Linked DNA regions of Homo sapiens: region 2 is linked to region 1. Evidence: promoter capture Hi-C in human tissues and cell types (Jung and others, 2019). All regions are on one chromosome and are shown on one strand. Each heading gives the region's core, a stretch centred on a gene start or on the middle of the fragment in contact. The rest is flanking DNA. Distances are from core to core; before and after follow the strand shown.

Region 1 (5,034 bases), core at 1,174-3,673:
AATAAAAAAGGCCATTATTAGTTGAATCTTATTGATGAAGAGACTGATGGCTCAAGAGAAGTGATTTTTCCAGGGTCCCATAGCTATTAGGGACCTACAAGGCCAAAGGATAGCCTAGCAGAGGAGCTTTAGCTCTCAAACCAGAATCTCACCACCCTCCGCCACCCTCAAAAACACCCCCACCACCTTCAAAACCGCTCCTGCTACCCTCCACCACCCCCAAAACCACGCTGGGTAAACACAGCTAAGGGAGAAATACTGTGCTTGCTTCTAAACACAGCTGGTATTAATGGATAAGCTCCTTACTCCTTCCTACCAGTCTACCCACTCCTAATCTCCTACATAGAAATTCTGGAGCTACTGCTGAACAGAAATTGAAGGCCTGGGGTTTTTCTGAGGCCCTTTCTGGCTCCGATAGTCTGATTGATAGTATATATATTGCTTCTGGCCTCTTATGATGGGGCTGGTGAGGAAGGTGCGTAAGGAGTGAACTCTACAGGTGACCTCCTCAGTGAGCCTGATGTCATTGTTTCTATCTCTTTTTTCTGTTTTTGAGATGGAGTCTCACTCTGTCACCCAGGCTGGAGTGCAATGGCGCAATCTCGGCTCACTGTAACCTCTGCCTCCCAGGTTTAAGTGATTCTCCTGCCTCAGCCTCCCAAGTAGCTGGGATTACAGGTGCACGCCACCATACCCAGCTAATTTGTTTTGTATTTTGGTAGAGACAGGTATCACCGTGTTGCCCAGGCTGGTCTCGAACTCCTGAGATCAGGCAATCCACCCATCTCGGCCTCCCAAAGTGCTAGGATTATTGGTGTGAGCCACCACTCTCGGCCCCATCTTTTCTATCTTTTATCCTCCCATGGCCTGTCCCCTTGACTCAGATTCTTTTTGTTTCTTCTTCTTCTTTTTTTTTCTTTTTTGAGACAGTGTCTTTCTCTGTCACCCAGGCTGGAGTGCAATGGCATGATCATAGCTCACTGCAGACTTGATCTTCTGGGCTCAAGCAATCCTCCCACTTCAGCCTCCTGAGTAGCTGGGACTGCAGGCATGCAACAGCACAGCCAGCTAATTTTTAATTTTTTTTAGAGATGGTGGAGTCTCTCTTTGTTGCCCAGGCTGGTCTCGAACTCCTGGGCTCAAGGGATCCACCCTCCTCAGCCCCCAAAGTGCTAGGATTACAGGCGTGAGCCACTGCACCTGGCCTGGCTTAGGTTGTTGACAGTTGGAAAGACATCTTTCTGTGCAGGTATCTGGCTAAAGAGTCTCAAGGGTCTGCCAGTCCCAACTTGAAGACCCCCTAGACTGGGGAATCTTCTATCATGGCTGTAATGCACTGTTATTAATGTTCCCTGTTACACTGAGAGAAAAGTCAGTGGCTCCACAACATAATAATGCTTAAAACATGCCATTTCTTCAGTGTTTCTCTATGAACACTACACATGCATTATTTTATTTAATCCTTGCTACAATTCTATGGAGTTAGAATGAATCTCCCATTCCTAGACAAGGAAGCAAACTCAGGTTAAGTGACTGACTCAAGGCCACACATCTATGTGGTAGGGCTGGAAGATTCTGACATTCAGAGGGTAACTTTGGAGAACCCCAGGGCTCAGACTCAGATTTTCATCCTGGCCTTCCTACCTGCTGTGAGAAGAGTTGATCAGTTGGGATGAGTTGATTATCATCTCCTTCCTTTAACTCTCAGCCACTCAGGGTTGATCAACTGTCCTCAGATAATGGGACAAACCCCTGCCCTCCCACCCCCACGAGCACCCACATAGGTCCAAACAGGCTTGAACTTCCTCAGTGTGAAAGGGAGCCACAGCCCAATACATTTCCCTTTTCTGGGTCAGGTTCCTCATCTAGCGTGGAGGGCAACTGTAATTTTTGCCTTTTCTGGTAATAGTAGCTCAGTTTTCCTCTGGAGAACCATCTCTCCCCTGTCAGTCCATTATGTTTTGAGTGAAACAAATTCCACTCCTAGTGCCATCATGGGTGTATTAATATTAGCTCACTTAATGGAACAGCCCAGGGGAAGTGGTTGCTCAATGGCATTACTGGATCCAGGTTAGGATTATCTGAGAATACATTTATCTGCATTTTACGGAAGGCAACCGAGGTTCATAGAGATAGTGATTTGGCCAGCGTCACAGGCCCAGTAAAAGGGATTGAAAATCCAGGTCCGTCCGACCCTAAAGCAGGGAACTCTGCCTAGTGTCTCGCTGTGGAATGTTAGGGATCCTGGGGTACCCTTCAGGGTCTTGGCTCGGAAGGAAAACATTCCCCTCCGAGGGGATGGACTATATTACCAAGGGGGTGGAGCCAGATGCCTGAGGGGGTGTGGCCAGAGCCTGGGGCGTGTCACAGCCGAAGGGGCAGGGCGGCAGCAGCAGGCGTCTAAGTAACTTCAGCGCCTGCGCAGAGGCTCCCCAGCGTCGCCCTAGGCTGGGACTCTAGTAGGTCTTCGGCTCAGTTTTGGCTGCAGCGCCCGCGTAGATCGCTTCGGCCGGGTTCTACGCCCGGCTCAACTATGAGCCGGTGCGCCCAGGCGGCGGAAGTGGCGGCCACAGTGCCAGGTGCCGGCGTCGGGAACGTGGGGCTGCGGCCGCCCATGGTGCCCCGTCAGGCGTCCTTCTTCCCGCCGCCGGTGCCGAACCCCTTCGTGCAGCAGACGCAGATCGGCTCCGCGAGGCGGGTCCAGGTGAGGGGCGTGGGTCTGAGGGGAGAGGTGGTCTGAGGGGGGCCTAGGTCAGAGGGGGGTCCAGGTAAGGGGTGTGGGTCTGAGAGAGGAGGGCGGCCGAGGGGGGCGTGGGTCTGAGGGAGTGAGGTGGTCCGAGGCGGGCGAGAGTCTGAGGAGGGAGGTGGCCTGAAGGGGGCATGGGTCTGAGGAGGGAGGTGGCCCGAGGGGAGCCAGGGTCTGGGGCGGGTCCAGGTGACTGGTGTAGGTCTGACGGGGGAGGGCGGTCGAGGGGCGCGTGGGTCTGAGGGGCGTTGTGGGTCTGGGAAGCAAAGGCATCAGAGGAAGAAAGAGCAGTGGATCTGAGAGGAGAGGACTTCTGAGGGGCCGTGAGCCTGAAAGGGGCGGAGATGTGTGTCTGAGAATTGAGGACATTTAGAGGATGGTCTGAGCGGGCACGGGAGGAGAGAAGATGCTGGGAAGATGCGGGCCTGAGAGGAGAATCCAAAACAGGAAGAGACTGAGCTGGCTGGTGGCGCAGGCTACATTCCATGCCCCAGAAGGTTGAAGGAATCTGTGAATCTGTGACAGAAGCTTCAACTTGAGTTTATGAGAGTGTAGTGGGAGGCAGATCTACTACGGGAGAGTAGATTTGAAGAAGTCTTTTTTTTTTTTTTTTTGCCTTAGGAAGGAGAGGAGTCAGTATGGGATGGATAAGAGTGAGGCAGAAGGCAGAGAGCCTAGGTCTGTGGTTAGAACAACAGGTAAGGCTGGAAAGATTTAGCTGAGCAGGAGCATGATGGAGGGTGGGAAGTCAGAATCAAAGAAAAGGGACAACTGAGTCAGCTTAGGATGTTCAAGAAGTTTTGGTCCAGAATCAGTCTTCACCTAAAAACGTTTCCTAAGTTGAAGCATGAGAAGTAGTAGCCCAGGCTGTTTTCCATTGTTAAAAATGGCTATACTGTTATGCACAAAGGAAGTTTCCTTTCCTTTCCTTTTTCTTGTAAAGGGTTCCTTTTACCATTGGCAGTTGCACTCTTTGGACTTCCTCTTTGTTGAAGTTAGTGATCAGAGAACAAGATAGACCCTGCTAACCACATTTGTCCGTGTGTTCTGCGGGGGTTGGGGGGGTGGGGGAACAATTTTGAAGTTTTCATGTCCATCTCACACATTACTTTGGATTTGAAGCAGTATAATATTTGCAATCAGCTTGTATGCACTAAGACCATTGTCCTCTACAGTGGGGGAAGGTTAAGTGCAGAGCTAAACAACACAGGTGGTGGCTTGAGTAATGGTAGATGGGTGTCTGGTTGAAGAGGGGTGTGAGAGAGGAAGAAGATAAAGAATGTAGTAATACTGCTTTGTGAGGAAATTAAACGTTTAAAAATGTGATCCTCATGTCTTTAAATTAATAGATATTCTTTTTGTGTCTTCACATTCTGAAACATTTGTAAATACATAGACCATTGTTCAAGATTAAATTTAGTCTGATTTAATTAAATCATACTTAAATGAAAATATGCCCATCTATTTGACTTCATATTTTGGAAAGAAACAGCATGGAATGTTGACAAATATTTATATTGCACCTATAATAAATTATTAAGTTTTTCCATCACCTGGTTTGTTACTGTTTAAAGATCTCTTCCAAATAACTCTCTGAGAGTTATAGTATAATGGAATGATAGCTAGTCAGTTATAGGAACTGGTCATTTATTAGTTGTATGACTTTGGCCAAGTCACTTAACCTCTCTGAACTATACTTTTCTCGTCTATTACATTGGAATATTAATAACTCAAAGGAGGGCTACAATTAAGTGAAATAATCTGTTATTGTTTGTTGATCTTAATATTGATAATATTGATAGTTATCCTATATATTTTCTACAAAGTATATACTGTACTTAAAATTTACTACTTGGATTAAATGGGATTTAACAAAGTCTGGATATTAAAAATACTTTTTAAATTTATATAGATCAGAGATACAAGAGGTTTCAGTGGCTTGAATCATCTGGGTAAAGGGAAGATTTGAATAGGCATGGTAGAAAAACAATGTCCATATTATCCAGTTTAAAAGGTGGACACACTTTCATTTAAGTATGACTTAGTATGATTAATTTAGACTAAGTTTAATCTTAAATGATGATCAATGTCTTGCTTAAGGACTGTTGTCCTCACATTTCACTAAGATAGTTAAACAAACAAGTACAAAAATATATAATCTCATGTTTTAGTAAGTGTAATGAAGGAAAACCAGAGAATAACACTGAGAGAAGGCCACCCAATGGAGATGACATATTACCAAATGGAAATATGATGAATTCTCTTAATTTGTCAATGAGTTAACTCAA
Region 2 (5,034 bases), core at 1,117-3,616, 140 kb before region 1:
CAGCTTTAACACCTTTCTGATACAGAATAACCTCCCTTTTCATGAAGAATGAAAATGCCTAAGGTTCAGGGAGCCTTAGATAAGCAACCATTATTTCGATGGTTACTTCGTATTGGTGGTACTTGTTTCTTGACTGTTTGTTTCCTTTTATAAAAGTGATATAAACTTTCTTCTTAAAATACATTTATTTTATTTTTAAAAATTAAGTCTGCTTAAAAAAACAGGTAAATGATGGTACAAATAGTACTTAGACATGGCCAAAAATATCATAAAGGTGGTACTCAAATGAGTGATGTTGGGAAAATGCTGAGTTAATAAGTACTGAACTGATTAAAGCAGGAGTTCAGTTTACAAATGGAAATCAGAAATTATATGTACTGCGTTAAAGCATTCACTAATTCCAACCTGATACCAGTATTGATTGACTCTACTTCCTCACCCCTACACTTAGCCTAGATAACAGAGTGTAGTGAAATTATGGGTCTATAAGCATAAGGAACACTTCTAAAAAATCAGCATAATATTTTTCATTTCAACACCCAGGACACTGACAACCAGCCCCTTTCAATTGTCTGGAAAAAAAAAATAGAGATTTTGTGTTTTCTGATTTTATTGAAGCCGCCAGAAACCATCTGCACATATACCAGACATACAGGGTGACACTCATGACTCCAAATAGGCTGGCAAATTAGGCCAAGTGTATCTCTGTGTCTATAATTATCAATTGCAAATCCCAGAAAGATGTCTACAGAACTGAATCAGGAAGAAATGGGGTGCTCTCTCTCATCTCTCAGCGCAAACAAGCCTTGTTCAAGACCAATTAGCATGACTGGTGGTTCCTTCTTCCCGAAGGTTACACTTCCAGGCTGAGAGCATCTGCTGTACATCTCTTCATTTCTTTCCCATTTTGAGCAATTTGGTTCCTAAGCTCAGTTTCCTCGTGGCTTCCTGGAGCTCTGATGACAAACTGCCATACTTTGTTCCTGTCCTTTAAGGCCCTGAAGGGCACTAGAGAACACACAAAATTTGTTTCTAATTTTGCATCTGCCAAAACATTCCTATAACAATACAAGGCTATAAAAATAGGATGCAACATCCCTCTAATTCCACAAAATAAACAAATCCAAAAGGAAATTAAACACAGTCCTTGAAAATGCAGCATAAATATTTTTACACTCATTCCTCCTTTCCTTCGCTGGCGAAAACTTGTCCCTGAATTATGATTTCAGATTGTATATTTATCCTTTTATGTTTACAACAGATAATCATGACATAAGCCAATGAAAAGAAACACTAGGGCTTTCTTCTTCTTCTTGGTTTCATGTTTTGTAAAATGAATGTCCCTTGGGACAGTTTAAGAGAATGTGGAATCCAATTTCCTCACTGGTGTTAGGAGTTTTATTTTTAACTCAACTACTCAAAATAATAGACATTCTCTACGTACCCTTATCCACAGTTGGAGTACACCAGACATGAAGCAGAATTATCTTTCCATTTTCGTTTTTAGATAGTTCAGGGTAACTTAGAGTTCTGAATTCCTGAATGTTGGCCAAGGTGATGTCATTAAATCTATAATGAAAACAGTGTCACTGAGAGAATTAATTCATTATGGTGGAATTAAGTTAAATCCTTTATGATATGCTATTAAGCACCCACACTAACTTGCTTGCATCAACCTAAATGAAGCACATTCAAATGCAAAAAAGAAAAACAAGTTCCAATCTCAAACCTCATTGGATATTAGGTAACTTTCGAAGTTAAATTTAACTATTAAAAATATTTATAAATCTCATGGTATTTAAGACATCTTACATGTGTTGCAGTGGCCAAATACCTTGTGGTTTATGTAACATCTTTGCCTGAGGGAGTATAACTTACTGTATAAATCATTATTTTGTATTTTATAAATGTTTTTGCCTTATGACTCAGTTCCTGCAACAGCCAAATAGCACAAGAGCTGCCCAACATTTCATTAATCTTTAAAATATTATTACACTCAGTCCAGATATGATAAAAGTGTTGCCAGAGTTCGAAGTAACTTGATCAAGATTTTAAGGACATTTCTAATCCCCAAATTTACCATGTAATCAACAAATACTTATTTCATTAGGTCCTGGAGAGAGAAATAAACAAATAGGTTCTATTCCCTGTCCTCTAGAATTTTACAGTTCAGTCCGGAGCCATGACATATTCGTGTAAAAATCTATCCCCTTGAACCCATGCAGAAAAGGAAGAGCTATGTAACCATTAGCCATGTGCTTACAAGGGGCTATTTCTGCTTCTGACACCAAATTTCTGCTGAGTCCAGGGAAACTTCCCACTTCCTCTCTATATCCTGGCTCACCACATACTTATCTAGCATAATGACTGCCTTGAAGGGGATTGGGTTTCTTAGAGGAAAAAAACTTACGATGGTATTAAATATGAAAACTTGAATGTTAATTGTTTTTTTTTTTAATAAAGGTTACCACTTCAAAAATTAGGTCATTTCACGCTAGTGGAAAGAACATGCATTCTCATAAGATAACTGAAAGAAATCACAATTCATGTTCAAAGCATCTTGCTTCTGACACATGGCTGTTAAGTGACAAATGGAAATTTCCTGAGCTCAGTAAAACGAGTTGACAATAGGCTGCTTATAGTTTCTGTCGGAAAGCAGACTGTCAAAAAAAGTTGTAGCAATCATGCACCATCGTTAATGATGACCAGCCAAGCTCTTTGTCTGCAAAGACCATGGACCAAATATTGTCACAGTCAGTCATCGACTGTGCAAGACTCTTTTTGTACCAACCTCATGAAAAGAAATTTTATTTTTAAAGATTGCCTCTCATTACAACAAGTATTACCCCAAACGGTCGAAATAACAAAAAAGAATTTGAAGCCTAGCCAATGACCTGACTGCTTTATACAATATTGATAGGACAACCCCCTGGGCAACAAAGGAATCTGATGGTGCCTCGGTTTTCTTTGTAATGAGATTTGGCCAGGATCAGGAAAATCATGTATTTATTTAAAATGGATACCCTGACTGCTTCTCAAAAGGTTTGAAGTGGCTTGCAAAAACCAACCAACCAAACAAACAAAAAAAGCCAAGATGTTTTAAGACTTAAAAAACGTTAAGAGTACAAAAAAAGAGAAAAGAAATAATCAAATGCATTAGCAGCCCGGGCGAATGCAGCTCCTTTAATTGAGCATTAAACAAACTTAAACGTAGCATTTCCTGTTCCAGAAGCAAGCAGGGCTGAAAACTTGGCTGGTGCACCACTAAAGCTTACCAGTTGTGTTTTCGGCTGGCATCCACTCCAACTGGATGATGCTCATGCTGTATTATATGTTAAATATTGTTATCATTATTCCAGGAGCCAGGCAGAGAATAGGCACTCAATAAATGGCAGCAGTTTTCAGTATTTTTCTCCTGCATTCCCAGCTGCCATATCACCTGCAGCATTCAGTTAATATCTATTTCAAATGCACATAAAATATATTCATGTTTTCCCTTTAAGCATCTGACTGTTAAGTGCCCTCTACCAGCAAAAGGAGGCAAGGACGTGATCTTTCTTGGGGCTCTATTTTCCTCTATAGGAGAAATGAGTACAAGAGGCCACAGCTTAATCGATGTTTACCAAAAATCTGACTTTTTGTTCCTAGCTGGGATTTTGCAACCACATTATAAATAACTTGAGTAACACACGAGGAGGATGCACCAATTCTAGTCCATTGCTGAATAATGTGTAAACACTATATGGAGTTTCTTTCATGTCTGCAAAAAAGGCGGGGGGGGGGCACGTTTCTCTCCTTTTCTCTAATTTTCTTTATATTTAAGTTTCTCACCTCTGGAGGAGTGCATGGAGCTAATTGTGCATTTCCCTTGTGTGAATAAAGGACGGAGTGTCTGCTTTCACTTCAAATTGCTTGGCCCTCAATCAACATCACCATAAATGTGACATATGAATATTAAATCCAAATATTTTATTGGTGCAGATAAATATGATTTGTAAAAAGAGTCAAATTAACAATCCATTACATACTAATGGGCTCTAATCAATAAGTTTAATTTGACTAAAAGGAGAGGGGCGGGGATGGAGGGGGAGAAAAGAGACTCAATTACACCCAAATGGTGCCATTTAAAATTATAAAGGTGACTGACTTCTACAACTTTTCAGCTGTATTCTGACTTGGGGGCTTATGGACCCAACACCGGAGCTGTGTTGAAAGTGAGCATCTGTCTGTGGTTTACACTCATATTTCCAATTATTTTTCTTTAAAATTAACCACTGTAAATACAAAAAGTACTGAGAACAATGCAAACGAACAAGATCCCACAAAACAGAAAGAAAAACGTGTCTTTTAAAAGCCGTATTTGCTCCAGATTAGTTTAGTAAAAATGAAACAATGCACATAAATCCGAAGTTTCTTTTGTCCCGTCTCTATCTTAGCCTTCTCTTTCCCTTCCTCCTTCTCCAGCGGCTGGACTAAATGTTGTATGTTTCCTTCTTGCCTTCATTTCTGTACTTTCACTACATCTAGAGGAATCCAGAAGCCATGGGGAGTAGCACTTGGTGTCTTTGTGAAATTCTACAACTTGCTTTTTCCAACTGTCAACCTAGTTCGTTCCTTTTAACTGTGATGTAGTATTCCACTATGTGATTCTGTCACTTCCTTTATTCTTTTATTTCTCTCTCATTCTCTTACTGATGGATGGTTAGGTTGGATCACCTTACTATAGTTATTCCGACATCAATTAGGGGAAAGGTGCCCAGGTCCCTGATTATTGAAGTAGATTTTAGATCCTTGGACAGATCGCAGCCTCACCTACGGGAAGATCTACATCCCCTCCTCCAGGGCTCTACCGAGGGAGAACCAAGGTAGAAAAGCATGCCTTTCCGGCTGCTGCTTTTGCATCTTATACGGATAGCCGGCTCATGGCAATGTGACTCAAGCTGGCAGGGGTCTTTGAGCATCAAACGTGTCCTCCTTCCCTCTACCTACTTCGGCTCCGGTTTCTCTCCCGAAGCCTAAATAAAGAAGGTAACA

The links. Contacts are between HindIII fragments. The study calls those that stand out against the background at their distance.
Region 2: a fragment that was not itself captured here is called in contact with the fragment with the promoter of LPCAT2 in region 1 in 1 of the 25 tissues and cell types used here (aorta).

The regions. Positions count from the first base shown.
Region 1 is chr16:55,506,649-55,511,682 of GRCh38, forward strand. It overlaps LPCAT2 (lysophosphatidylcholine acyltransferase 2), which reads left to right and starts at 2,424. Exons shown (of 14, transcript NM_017839.5): 1 at 2,424-2,704. The coding sequence starts at 2,534. It overlaps MMP2 (matrix metallopeptidase 2), which reads left to right. Exons shown (of 13, transcript NM_004530.6): 13 at 1-43. The HindIII fragment of the contact is 8,978 bases long and covers 1-5,034 here.
Region 2 is chr16:55,366,111-55,371,144 of GRCh38, forward strand. It overlaps LOC105371279 (a long non-coding RNA gene), which reads right to left and starts at 3,455. Exons shown (of 3, transcript XR_933600.3): 1 at 3,276-3,455; 2 at 1,445-1,569; 3 at 593-1,008. The HindIII fragment of the contact is 4,990 bases long and covers 1-4,861 here.